Linked DNA regions of Homo sapiens: region 2 is linked to region 1. Evidence: promoter capture Hi-C in human tissues and cell types (Jung and others, 2019). All regions are on one chromosome and are shown on one strand. The core of a region is centred on a gene start or on the middle of the fragment in contact, and the rest is flanking DNA. Distances in the headings are between cores, read along the strand shown. Region 1 overlaps ACOT7 (acyl-CoA thioesterase 7). Region 2 holds the start of NOL9 (nucleolar protein 9).

Region 1 (5,400 bases), core at 2,518-5,017:
ACATGGCAAAACTCTGTCTCTACTAAAACTACAAAAATTAGCCGGGCATGGTGGTGGGCGCCTGTAATGCCAGCTACTTGGGAGGCTAAGGCAAGAGAATCGCTTGAACCCAGGAGGCAGAGGTTGCAGTGGGCCAAGATTGTGCCATTGCACTCCAGCCTGTGTGACAGAGTGAAACTCCGTCTCAAAAAAAAAAAAGAAAAAAAAAAGTCAAGAGATGGCAGCACCTCTTCCCCCATCCCTCCCATACCTACCCAGGCAGCCAAGCATATAGAAAGAAGGTAGGAAATGAGACAGGCACCTAGAACTCAAAAGCACACTGAGCCCAGCTCATCAGAGGGCACTCGGAAGAGAGAATTCAAGGAGAACTCCGCAACGACATGCCCTAGAATGGGAGGCCACATCCCTCTCCCCAACCGAAACTCACTGCCTCATGCTAGAGGAAGCTGGTAGGGTCAGAAACTTACATCCAGGCTCCAGAAAGATCTCTCAGAGCTCAATGTGAAAAAAACAAATGACCTTTGGCTAGGCGCGGTCGTGCACGCCTGTAATCCCAGCACTTTGGGAGGCTGAGGTGGGCAGATGGCTAGAGCTCAGGAGCTGGAGACTCTTCTAGGCAACATGGTGAGACCCCATCTCTACCAAAAATCCAAAAAAATTAGCCGAGCATGGTGGTGAGCACTGCGGGTGGCAAGCCATCCAGGTGCCGAGGCAAGAGACCAAGGGCATGAGCTTTTCCAGTATAATAAAATATATAAAACAGTAAGAATTATACTAGATCTAGATCATAGACGTGATTATATATGAATATCATTAATCATTAATTTGTAGCAATTACTCTTTATTCCAATATTATAATAATCCTCGCTCTATAATCATAACCTAGGAAAAACCAGGCTATACAGAGATGGGAGCTGAGGGGACATGGTGAGAAGTGACCAGAAGACAAGTGCGAGCCTTCTGTTATGCCCGGACAGGGCCACCAGAGGGCTCCTTGGTCTAGCGGTAACGCCAGCGTCTGGGAAGACGCCCGTTGCCAGGCAGACCGTGGTTCCAGCAGTAGCGTCAGTGCCAAAGAAAAACACCCGCCACTTAGCAGACCAGGAAAGGGAGTCTCCCTTTCCCCCGGGGAGTTTAGAGAAGACTACTCCTCCACCTCTTGTGGAGGGCCTGACATCAGTCAGGCCTGCCCGCAGTTATCCGGAGGCCTGTCTCCCTGTGATGCTGTGCTTCAGTGGTCACGCTCCTAGTCCACTTTCATGTTCCATCCTGCACACCTGGCTCTGCCTTTTAGATAACAGTAGCAAATTAGTGAAAGTACTAAAAGTCCCTGATATGCAGAAATAATGGCGTAAGCTGTCTCTCTCTCTCTCCCTCTCTCTCTGCCTTGGCTGCCAGGCAGGGAAGGGCCCCCTGTCCAGTGCACATGTGACCCACGTGACCTTACCTATCATTGGAGATGATTCACACTCTTTACCCCTCCCCTTTTGCCTTGTATCCAATAAATAACAGCACAGCCAGGCATTCGGGGACACTACCGGTCTCTGCATCTTGGTGGTAGTTGTCCCCCGGGCCCAGCTGTCTTTTATCTCTTTGTCTTGTGTCTTTATTTCTACAATCTCTCATCTCCCCACATGGGGAGAAAAGCCACCGACCCTGTGGGTTTTCTGTGGTCCCAGCTACTCAGGGGGTCCCAGCTGCACCTGTGGTCCCAGCTACTCAGGGGGCTGAGGTGGTAGGATCACTTGAGCTGGGAGGTCAAGGCTGCAGTGGGCCAAGATTGAATTCCAGCCTGGATGACAGAGCGAGACCTTGTCTCAAAAAAGGCTAGATGCAGTGACTCACACCTGTAATCCCACCACTTTGGGAGGCTGAGGCAGGAGGATCACTTGAGCCCAGGAATTCCAGGCCGGCCTGGGCAACAAGACGAGACTCCACCTCTAGAAAAAAAGAAAAGATATTCAACATCATTAGACATTAGGAAAATACAAAAGTAACATCTAAAAGCAATTATCGGCGAGGTGTGGTGGCTCACACCTGTAATCCCAGCACTTTGGGAGGCCAAGGCAGGTGGATCACCTGAGGTCGGGCGTTCAAGACCAGCCTGACCAACATGGAAAAACCCCATCTCTACTAAAAATACAAAATTAGCTGGGCGTGATGGTGCATGCATGTAATCCCAGCTACTCGGGAGGCTGAGGCAGGAGAATCCCTTGAAGCCGGGAGGCAGAAGTTGCAGTGAGCCAAGATCATGCCATTGCACTCCAGCCAGGGTGACAGAGCAAGAGACTCTGTCTCAAAAAAAAAAAAAAGCCCAGCATTTGGCCTGGCGCAGTGGCTCACGCCTGTAATCCCAGCACTTTGGGAGGCCGAGGTGGGCAGATCACGAGGTCAAGAAATCGAGACTATCCTGGCCAACATGGTGAAACCTCATCCCTACTAAAAATACAAAAATTAGTTGGGCGTGGTTGCGCTCACCTGTAGTCCCAGCTACTCGGGAGGCTGAGGCAGGAGAATCACTTGAACCCGGGAGGCGGAGGTTGCAGTGAGCCAAGATCACGCCACTGCACTCCGGCCTGGGGACAGAGCGAGACTCCATCTCAAAAAAAAAAAAAAAAAAAAAAAAAAATTAGCCAGGCATGGTGGTGGGAGCCTGTAATCCCAGGTACTCAGGAGGCTGAGGAAGCAGAATCGCTTAAACCCGGGAGGCAGAGGTTGCAGTGAGCTGAGATCGCCCCACTGCACTCCAGCCTGAGCAACAAGAGTGAGACTCCGTCTCAAAAAAAAAAAGGAAAGGAATGAATAACTGATACATGCAACCATGTGGATGAATCTCCAAGTAATCGTGCTGAGCAAGGGAGGCTGGACAAAAAGAGAACTGTGCAAGTCCATGTTTATAAACTTGGAGGAAACACAAACTATAGTGACAGAAAGCAGATCAGAGGTTGCCTGGGGGCAGGGAGGGACCAGAGAAGCAGAGGGCCTCAGCAGGGTGACAGGTCTGTTCACAGTCTCGGTCTTGATTGTGGTGAAGGCTTCACAGGCTCACACAGGCATACCTCAGAGATATTACGGGTTTGGTTCCAGATCACCGCAACAAAGCACACATTGCACTTTATAATAAGTCACATGATTTTTTTGGTTTCCCAGTGCACGTAAAAGTTACACTGTAGTCTATTAAGTGTATAATAGCATTATGCCTTAAAAAAAAGTATATACCTTCATTTAAAAACACTTTATTGCAATCGGGCATGGTGGCTCACACCTGTAATCCCAGCACTTTGGGAGGCCAAGGTGGGTGGATCACAAGGTCAGGAGATCGAGACCATCCTGGCTAACACGGTGAAACCCCATCTCTACTAAAAAACAAAAAATTAGCCCGGCATGGTAGTGGGCGCCTGTAGTCCCAGCTACTCGGGAGGCTGAGGCAGAAGAATGGCGTAAACCCGGGAGGCGGAGCTTGCAGTGAGCCGAGATCGCACCACTGCACTCCAGCCTGGGCAACAGAGCAAGACCCCATCTCAAAAAAAAAAAAAAAATTTATTGCTAAAAAATGCTAACAATCATCTGAGCCTTCAGTGAGTGGTATTCTTTTTGCTGGCAGAGTCTTGCCTCGATGTTGATGGCTGCAGACTGATTCATATTGTTTTGGGGTTTATTTTTTTTTTTTGAGACAGTCTCATTCTATAGCCCAGGCTGGAATGCAGTGGCACGATCTTGGCTCACTGCAACCTCTGCCTCCCGGGTTCAAGTGGTTCTCCTACCTCAGCCTCCCAAGTAGCTAGGATTACAGGCACGCGTCACCACGCCCAGCTAATTTTTTGTATTTTTAGTAGAGACAGGGTCTCACTATGTTGGCCATGCTGGTCTTGAACTCCTGACCTCAGGTGATCCGCCCACCTCAGCCTCCCAAAGTGCTGGGATTACCGCCCGGCCTGCAGACTGATTAGGATGGCGACTGCTGAAGGCTGGGATGGCTGTGGCAGTTCCTTAAAATAAGACAACAATGACATTGACCACATCAATTGACCCTTCTTTCCACAAAATATTTCTCTGGGCCAGGCACGGTGGCTCATGTCTGTAATCCCAGCACTTTGGGACCCCGAGGTGGGAGAATCGCTTGTGCCCAGGAGTTCCAGACCAGCCTGGGCAATATAAGGAGATGCTGTCTCTAAAAATAAAAATTAAAAAATTAGCTACTCATGGTGGCACTTGCCTGTGGTCCCAGTTACTTGAGAGGCTAAGGGTGGGAGGATCCCTTCAGCTCAAGAGGTCAAAGCTGCAGTGAGCTGTGATTGCACCACTGCACTCCAGCCCGGGTGACAGAGTGGGAGCCTATCTCAAATAAAAAAAAAAAAAAAGATTTCTCTGTAGCATGCAATGTTTGATAGCATTTTACCCACAGTAGAACTTACTTTTTTTTTTTTTTGAGACAGAGTCTCACTCTGTCAGCCAGGCTGGAGTACAGTGGCATGATCTCGGCTCACTGCAACCTCCGTCTCCCGAGTTCAAGTGATTCCCCTGGCTCAGCCTCCTGAGTAGCTGGGACTACAGGTGTGCACCACCACACCAGGCTAATTTTTTGTATTTTAGTAGAGATGGGGAGAACATGTCAGCCAAGATGGTCTCGATCTCCTAGACCAGCCCAGTAGAACTTTCAAAAGTGGAGTCAGGCCGGGCGCGGTGGCTCATGCCTGTAATCCCAGCACTTTGGGAGGCCGAGGCAGGCGGATCACGAGGTCAGGAGATGGAGACCATGATGGCTAACATGGTGAAACCCCTTCTCTACTAAAAATATAAAAAAATTAGCTGGGCATGGTGGCAGGCACCTGTAGTCCCAGCTACTCGGGAGGCTGAGGCAAGAGAATTGCGTGAACCCAGAAGGCAGAGCTTGCAGTGAGCTGAGATCGCACCACTGCACTCCAGCCTGGGCGACAGAGCGAGACTCCATTTCAAAAAAAAAAAAAAAAGTGGAGTCAGTCCTCTTAAAACCTATGTTGTTTTATCAACTAAGTTTATGGAATATTCTAAATCCTTTTGTTATGGGATCTTTGGGGTATCCCTTTTCTGGCCAGAAACCTCTGTGTCTTGTGGCACCTTTGCCTAAGTTTTGCTGGGGCCCACTGGGCTTATTCCACCCACTCAGCCTGGCAGGCTGCGCTTGGCTCATGCTACCAGCCTGGAGCTCCCATGCCTGCCAAGGACAAGCCTGGTGTGGAGCAGCGAGCAGTGTGTGAGTGAGCATGGAGTACGGCCACTGCACAGTCAGACATGCCAGCTGCTGCTGCAGGGCAGGCAGCTCCAGATGCTGGCACAGGTGCTGGTTCTCTGCAAGGCTGCACCTGGACCAAGCGCACCTCAAGCAGCTTGCCTGGTTGGCACACGGGAATGCTGTGGTGC
Region 2 (5,924 bases), core at 1,925-4,424, 190 kb after region 1:
GGAGAAGGAGGTGGGGGGATCACTTGAGTGAGGCCAGGAGTTTGAGACCAGCCTGGATAACATGGCAAACCCCCCTGCACCCCACCCCCGCCACCACCATCTCTACTAAAATTACAAAAATTAGCTGGGCATGTGCCTGTAATCCCAGCTACTCCAGAGGCTGAGGCATGAGAATCGCTTGAATCCAGAGGCAAAGGCTGCAGTGAGCTGAGATCATGCCAGTACACTGCAGCCTGGGCGACAGTGATACTGTCCCAAAAATAAATAAATAAATAAAAATTAAATAAAATTAAAAAATTTAAAAGGCTGCAGCCATAAAAAGGGATGAGATCATGTCCTTTGCAGGGACTTGGATGGAGCTGGAAGCCGTTATCTTCAGCAAACTAATTCAGGTACAGAAAATCAAATATCGGCCGGGTGTGGTGGCTCACGCCTGTAATCCCAGCACTTTGGGAGGCCGAGGCGGGTGGATCACAAGGTCAGGAGATCAAGACCATCCAGGCTAACACGGTGAAACCCCGTCTCTACTAAAAAAAATACAAAAAACTTAGCCAGGTGTGGTGGCGGGCACCTGTAGTCCCAACTACTCGGGAGGCTGAGGCAGGAGAATGGCGTGAACCCGGGAGGCGGAGCTTGCAGTGAGCCCAGATTGCGCCACTGCACTCCAGCCTGGGCAACAGAGCGAGACTCCATCTCAAAAAAAAAGAAAGAAAATCAAAATATGGTATGTTCTCACTTATCAGTGGGATTTGAACCATGAGAACACATGGATACATGGTGGGTAACAACATACACTGGAGCCTGTGGGGGTCTGGGGAAGGGCGTCAGGAAGAATGGATGCTGGGCTTAATACATAGGTGATGTGTTGATCTGTGCAGCAAACCACCAAGGCACCCATTTAACTACGTAATAAATCTGCACACCCTGCGTATGTACCCTGGAACTTAAAAGTGCTGGGATTACAGGCGTGAGCCACCACACCCGGCCGATATTTGATTTTCTGTACCTGAATTAGTTTGCTGAAGATAACGGCTTCCAGCTCCATCCAAGTCCCTGCAAAGGACATGATCTCATCCCTTTTTATGGCTGCAGCCTTTTAAATTTTTTAATTTTATTTAATTTTTATTTATTTATTTATTTTTGGGACAGTATCAGCTTACCACAACCTCCACCTCCCAGGTTAAAGCAATTCTCCTGCCTCTGCCTCCAGAGTAGCTGGGATTACAGGCGTGTGCCACCACATCTCAAACTCCTGACCTCAGGTGATCCGCCCACCTAGGCCTCCAAAAGTGCTGGGATTACAGGCGTGAGCCACTAGACAGGGTTTCGCCATATTGGCCAGGCTGGTCTCGAACTCGCTACCTCAGGTGATCCACCCACCTCAGCCTCCAAAAGTGCTGGGATTACAGGCGTGAGCCACTGTGCCCAGCTCTCTCTTTTCCTTTTCCTTTCTTTCTTTTCCCCTCCCTCCTTCCTTTCTTCCTTTCTTTCGAGACGGAGTCTCACTCTGTCGCCCAGGCTGGAGTGCAATGGCGTGATCTTGGCTCACTGCAACCTCCAGCTCCCGGGTTCAAGCAAGTCTCCTGCCTTAGCCTCCTGAGTAGCTGGGATTACAGGCGTGTGCTACCATGCCCAGCTAATTTTTGTATTTTTAGTAGAGATGAGGTTTCACCATGTTGGTCAGGCTGGTCTCAAACTCCTGACCTCAGATGATCTGCCAGCTTCGGCTTCCCAAAGTGCCGGGACTACAGGCCTGAGCCACCGCGCCTGGCCCATACTTTATATTTTTAAACTAAGATCATACCCCATGGCAGCTACAGAGAAAGCATGGTGACCGTGAACTCGGCTCTGTGCTCCTGGTTCAGACAGACTCTACCACTCTGTCCTTTTAAAGACCCACAGCTTGCCAAGTCTCTTCCAGAACTTCCTGGGTTTTGCCTTCCCTCCTGCATTAGACAGGGAATCTCCAGGAATGGCATCCACGTTAAGAATCAGGCTGCCTGAGTTCGACTCCTAGCTCTCCCTCTACTGTGTAAGTTACCCAACCTCAGTCTCCTCGTCTGTAAACACTTAGAGAGAGGGACAACTACTCCGTAAGAGAGCTGGATGTTTAAATGGGTTCAAAGCCTAAAACACTTTTGGAACCCTTAAATCCTGGAATTTCTGAGCTCTCAGTAATTGCAACCTTTTTTTTTTTTAACTATTAAAATCCCTTTCAGAGTTCCAGGTGCGGTGGTTCACACCTGTAATCCCAGCACTTTGAGAGGCCGAGGCGGGTGGATCACAAGGTCAGGAGATCGAGACTATCCTGGCTAACATGGCGAAACCCCGTTTCTACTAAAAATACAAAAAATATAGCCGGGCGAGGTGGCACGCGCCTGTAGTCCCAACTACTCCGGAGGCTGAGGCAGGGGAATCGCTTCAACCCGGGATGCGGAGGTTGCAGTGAGCCGAGATTGTGCCACTGCACTCCAGCCTGGGGGACAGAGTGAGACTCTGTCTCAAAAAGAAAAAGAAAGAAAGAAAACAAAACAAAATAAAGTCCCTTTAGCTCGTAAGGCCTAGGGACCCCTTAGCAGGGTACCTGTTACCCTGCTGCTCAGGGGAGCCTAGTTGCCACCAACCATCAAGAGGATGGACTTGAATCCGACTGGCAGCCAGAGAACAGGCCCGGGGGACCACGGTCCTCTCCTACCCTGCAGCTCTCCCGGGGCTGCCTCTCCAGCCCTCCCTGCCCTCGGGGACTACTACCGGCGCCCCCCACCTACCTGCTCGACCGGCAGCAGCAGCAACGCGCGGCCGGGGCCCACGGGCCGCACCGGTGGGATGAGGAGAGGCCGGTGGCAACTCGAGGCGGATTCGAGTTCGGGTTCGGACTCGGGTTCGGAGGCCGGGGTCGGGCTAGGGATCGGGCTGGGGGTCGCGGTGTTGGGTCTCCGGGCCGCCGCCGCGCGCGACACCTGGCGGGCTCCCTCCCTCCAGTCCACGCCGGACGCCTGGGCTTGCAGTAACCGCCACCGTAGGCGCCGCCGACCGCACCAGCGCAGGCTCCCGAGCCGGCGGCGGGGCCGGCGGCTGAGGATGAGCTGGGGCCGGGCCTTGCGGACCCGCAGCCAAGTGGAACGGCAGGAACCCCGCTTTAGCAGCAGTCCCGAGTCCGCCATGCTGGGTCCTCAGGGCCTACCGCGCGAGAATCTCGCGAGATCCCGTCGGTCCGCCCCGCTGCCCTCCCAGCTGCCGAAAAGAGGGGCCTCCGAGCCGCCGGCGCCCTCTGCCGGCAACCTCCGGAAGCACACTAGGAGGTTCCAGCCGATCTGGTCGAGGGGCTCCACGGAGGACTCCATTTACGTTACGCAAATTCCCTACCCCAGCCGGCCGGAGAGAGAAAGCCAGAAACCTCGCGACCAGCCATGGGCCACCTCTCCGGAAAAACACCGGGATATTTTTTTTCTCCTGCAGAAAAAGCTTTAGGATTGGCAGTTTAAACAAAACATGTCTATTTGCATACCTTCGGTTTGCATGCATTTGTTTCGAAGTGAGCAACCCTGGGTAACAAGGCGAAAGTATATGACAATTTGCTCAGAATCTTAATGTCAGAAAACTGGAGACTGGGGCAGGGGGGTGTCGACTCAAAGCTGTGTCTCATTTAGTAAACTGAGGCCCAGGTAAAAAGTTCTGAAACCTCGCAACACCCGGAGAAATTGTGTTCCAGCCTCCCACCTCGCCCCAAAATGCCAGAGCTCCTTTTCTAAGCCAGGTGAAGTCACAGAGCGTGGACAGAACCCACAACCGTCCAGAGGAAGGGTCACTGGGTGCCACCTGGTTTGCATCTGTGCCTTCGTCCTGCCCAGTTCCTGAGTGGGACCGCAGGCCCGGAATGTCAAGGCAAACAGTCCTGCTTCAGCCACTGGGCTCCAGTCCCACCCCTTTTGGGGGCCTGAAGTTAGGAAGCATCCGGCAGCTGCCTTCTATTTAAGCAACTGGCCTCCTTAGAGGCCACTCCTTGGCCATGCCAGGCGCGGGCATCTGGCCAGCATGCTGCTCTGCACGGCTCGCCTGGTCGGCCTGCAGCTTCTCATTTCCTGCTGCTGGGCCTTTGCCTGCCATAGCACGGAGTCTTCTCCTGACTTCACCCTCCCCGGAGATTACCTCCTGGCAGGCCTGTTCCCTCTCCATTCTGGCTGTCTGCAGGTGAGGCACAGACCCGAGGTGACCCTGTGTGACAGGTGAGTGAGGGGCCAGCAGAGCCACACTTAGTGGGACCCCTGGCTATAGGGCCCCTCTGGCTGCCATCCTCCAAACAGGACCTTGCCTCTGCCTTTGCCCCTTGAACTGTCCCCAGGCCTTGTTCATCAATCCACTTGCCACCTAAGTGCTGGCTAGACCTTCCTAGACACTTCGGCCAGTTTCCAATTATTTCACCCTTGCTGTTAGAATGTGTTGTATTGTAACTTCATTGAAATTGGTTCTTGGCTTTGTACCATACCTAGGTGGCCAGGCCTAAGCAAGGGCAGCTTTTTCCCTCTTCTTTTTTTTTTTTTTTTTTTTTTTGAGACGGAGTCTCGCTCTTTCACCCAGGTGGGACTGCAGTGGCGCGATCTCAGCTCACTGCAAGCTCCGCCTTCCGGGTTCACGCCATTCTCCTGCCTCAGCCTCCCGAGTAGCTGGGACTACAGGCACCCGCCACTGCGCCCAGCTAATGTTTTGTATTTTTAGTAGAGACGGGGTTTCACCGTGTTAGCCAGAATGGTCTCGATCTCCTGACCTCGTGATCTGCCCACCTCGGCCTCCCAAAGTGCTGGGATTACAGGCGTGAGCCACCGCGCCCAGCCGCTTTTTCCCTCTTCTATCTTCTCTCCACTCCTACCCATGTTCAAAGTTCCCTAGAGTCCCAGATGACAAGTAGGATTCTCCATGGTTCTTCATGGGGTGGGAAGGGAAGACACATCCCATTAGATGCTTTAGGAGCTTGACAAATATAAATTAGGTTGGTGCCATCATGAAGTCAACAATCTAGGTAGAGGGAAACTACTGCTTTTCTTTTATTTCTATCTATCTATCTATCTATCTATATTTTTTTGAGATGGAGACTCAGTCTGTCATCCAGGCTGGAGTGCAGTGGCATAATCTTGACTCACTGCAACCTCCTCCTCCTGGGCTCAAGTGATTCTCATGCCTTAGCCTCGGGAGTAGCTGGAATTATAGGCATGTGTCACCATACCCAGCTAATTTTTGTATTTTTCGTAGAGACAGGGGTTTCACCATGTTGGTCAGGCTGGTCTCGAACTCCCGACCTCAGGTGATCCGCCCACCTCGGCCTCCCAAAGTGCTAGGATTATAGGCTTGAGCCACCGCGCCCGGCCTGCTTTTCTTTTAAAGAAGACAGTTGCAGCCGAGCACAGTGGCTCACGCCTGTAATCCCAGCACTTTGGGAGGCTGAGACAGGCGGATCACGAGGTCAGGAGTTCAAGATCAGTCTGGCCAACATAGTGAAACCCTGTCTCTACATAAAATACAACACATTAGCCGGGTGTGGTGGTGTGCACCTGTAATCCCAGCTACTCAGGAGCCTGAGGCAGGAGAATCGCATGAACCCGGAGGTGGAGGTTGCAGTGAGCCAAGATCACACCATTGCATTCCAACCCGGGCGACAGAGCGAGGCTCCATCTCAAAAAAAAAAAAAAAAAAAAAGACGAAGACAGTTGCTTGCAGACTGTGGAAGTCACAGACCCAGAGGCCCAAGAATGCTGCCGAGGCTTGGCTGCAGGATGTCCTACCCATGAAGCACACGAGATGGTTGGCTCAGGAAGAAGTTTCTGGAAATCTAGTGTATGACGACCTACTCGAAGGGCTACAGCTAGAAACCTGGATAAAGAGATAAAGAGAATGGGCTGGGAAGAGAGATTGGGTAGAGCAGGAGGAGG

The links. Contacts are between HindIII fragments. The study calls those that stand out against the background at their distance.
Region 2: the fragment with the promoter of NOL9 here is called in contact with a fragment that was not itself captured in region 1 in 1 of the 25 tissues and cell types used here (spleen).

The regions. Positions count from the first base shown.
Region 1 is chr1:6,362,245-6,367,644 of GRCh38, forward strand. All of the region lies in intron 1 of ACOT7 (acyl-CoA thioesterase 7), which reads right to left. Among named protein-coding and RNA genes, the nearest start is that of ACOT7, 29 kb to the right of the region's middle. RefSeq lists an enhancer at 2,303-2,802. The HindIII fragment of the contact is 3,740 bases long and covers 1,898-5,400 here.
Region 2 is chr1:6,551,339-6,557,262 of GRCh38, forward strand. NOL9 (nucleolar protein 9) reads right to left here and starts at 3,175. Exons shown (of 12, transcript NM_024654.5): 1 at 2,769-3,175. The coding sequence starts at 3,164. TAS1R1 (taste 1 receptor member 1) reads left to right here and starts at 3,969. Exons shown (of 6, transcript NM_138697.4): 1 at 3,969-4,226. The coding sequence starts at 4,036. RefSeq lists an enhancer at 986-1,486 and a silencer at 2,881-3,140. The HindIII fragment of the contact is 18,414 bases long and covers 1-5,924 here.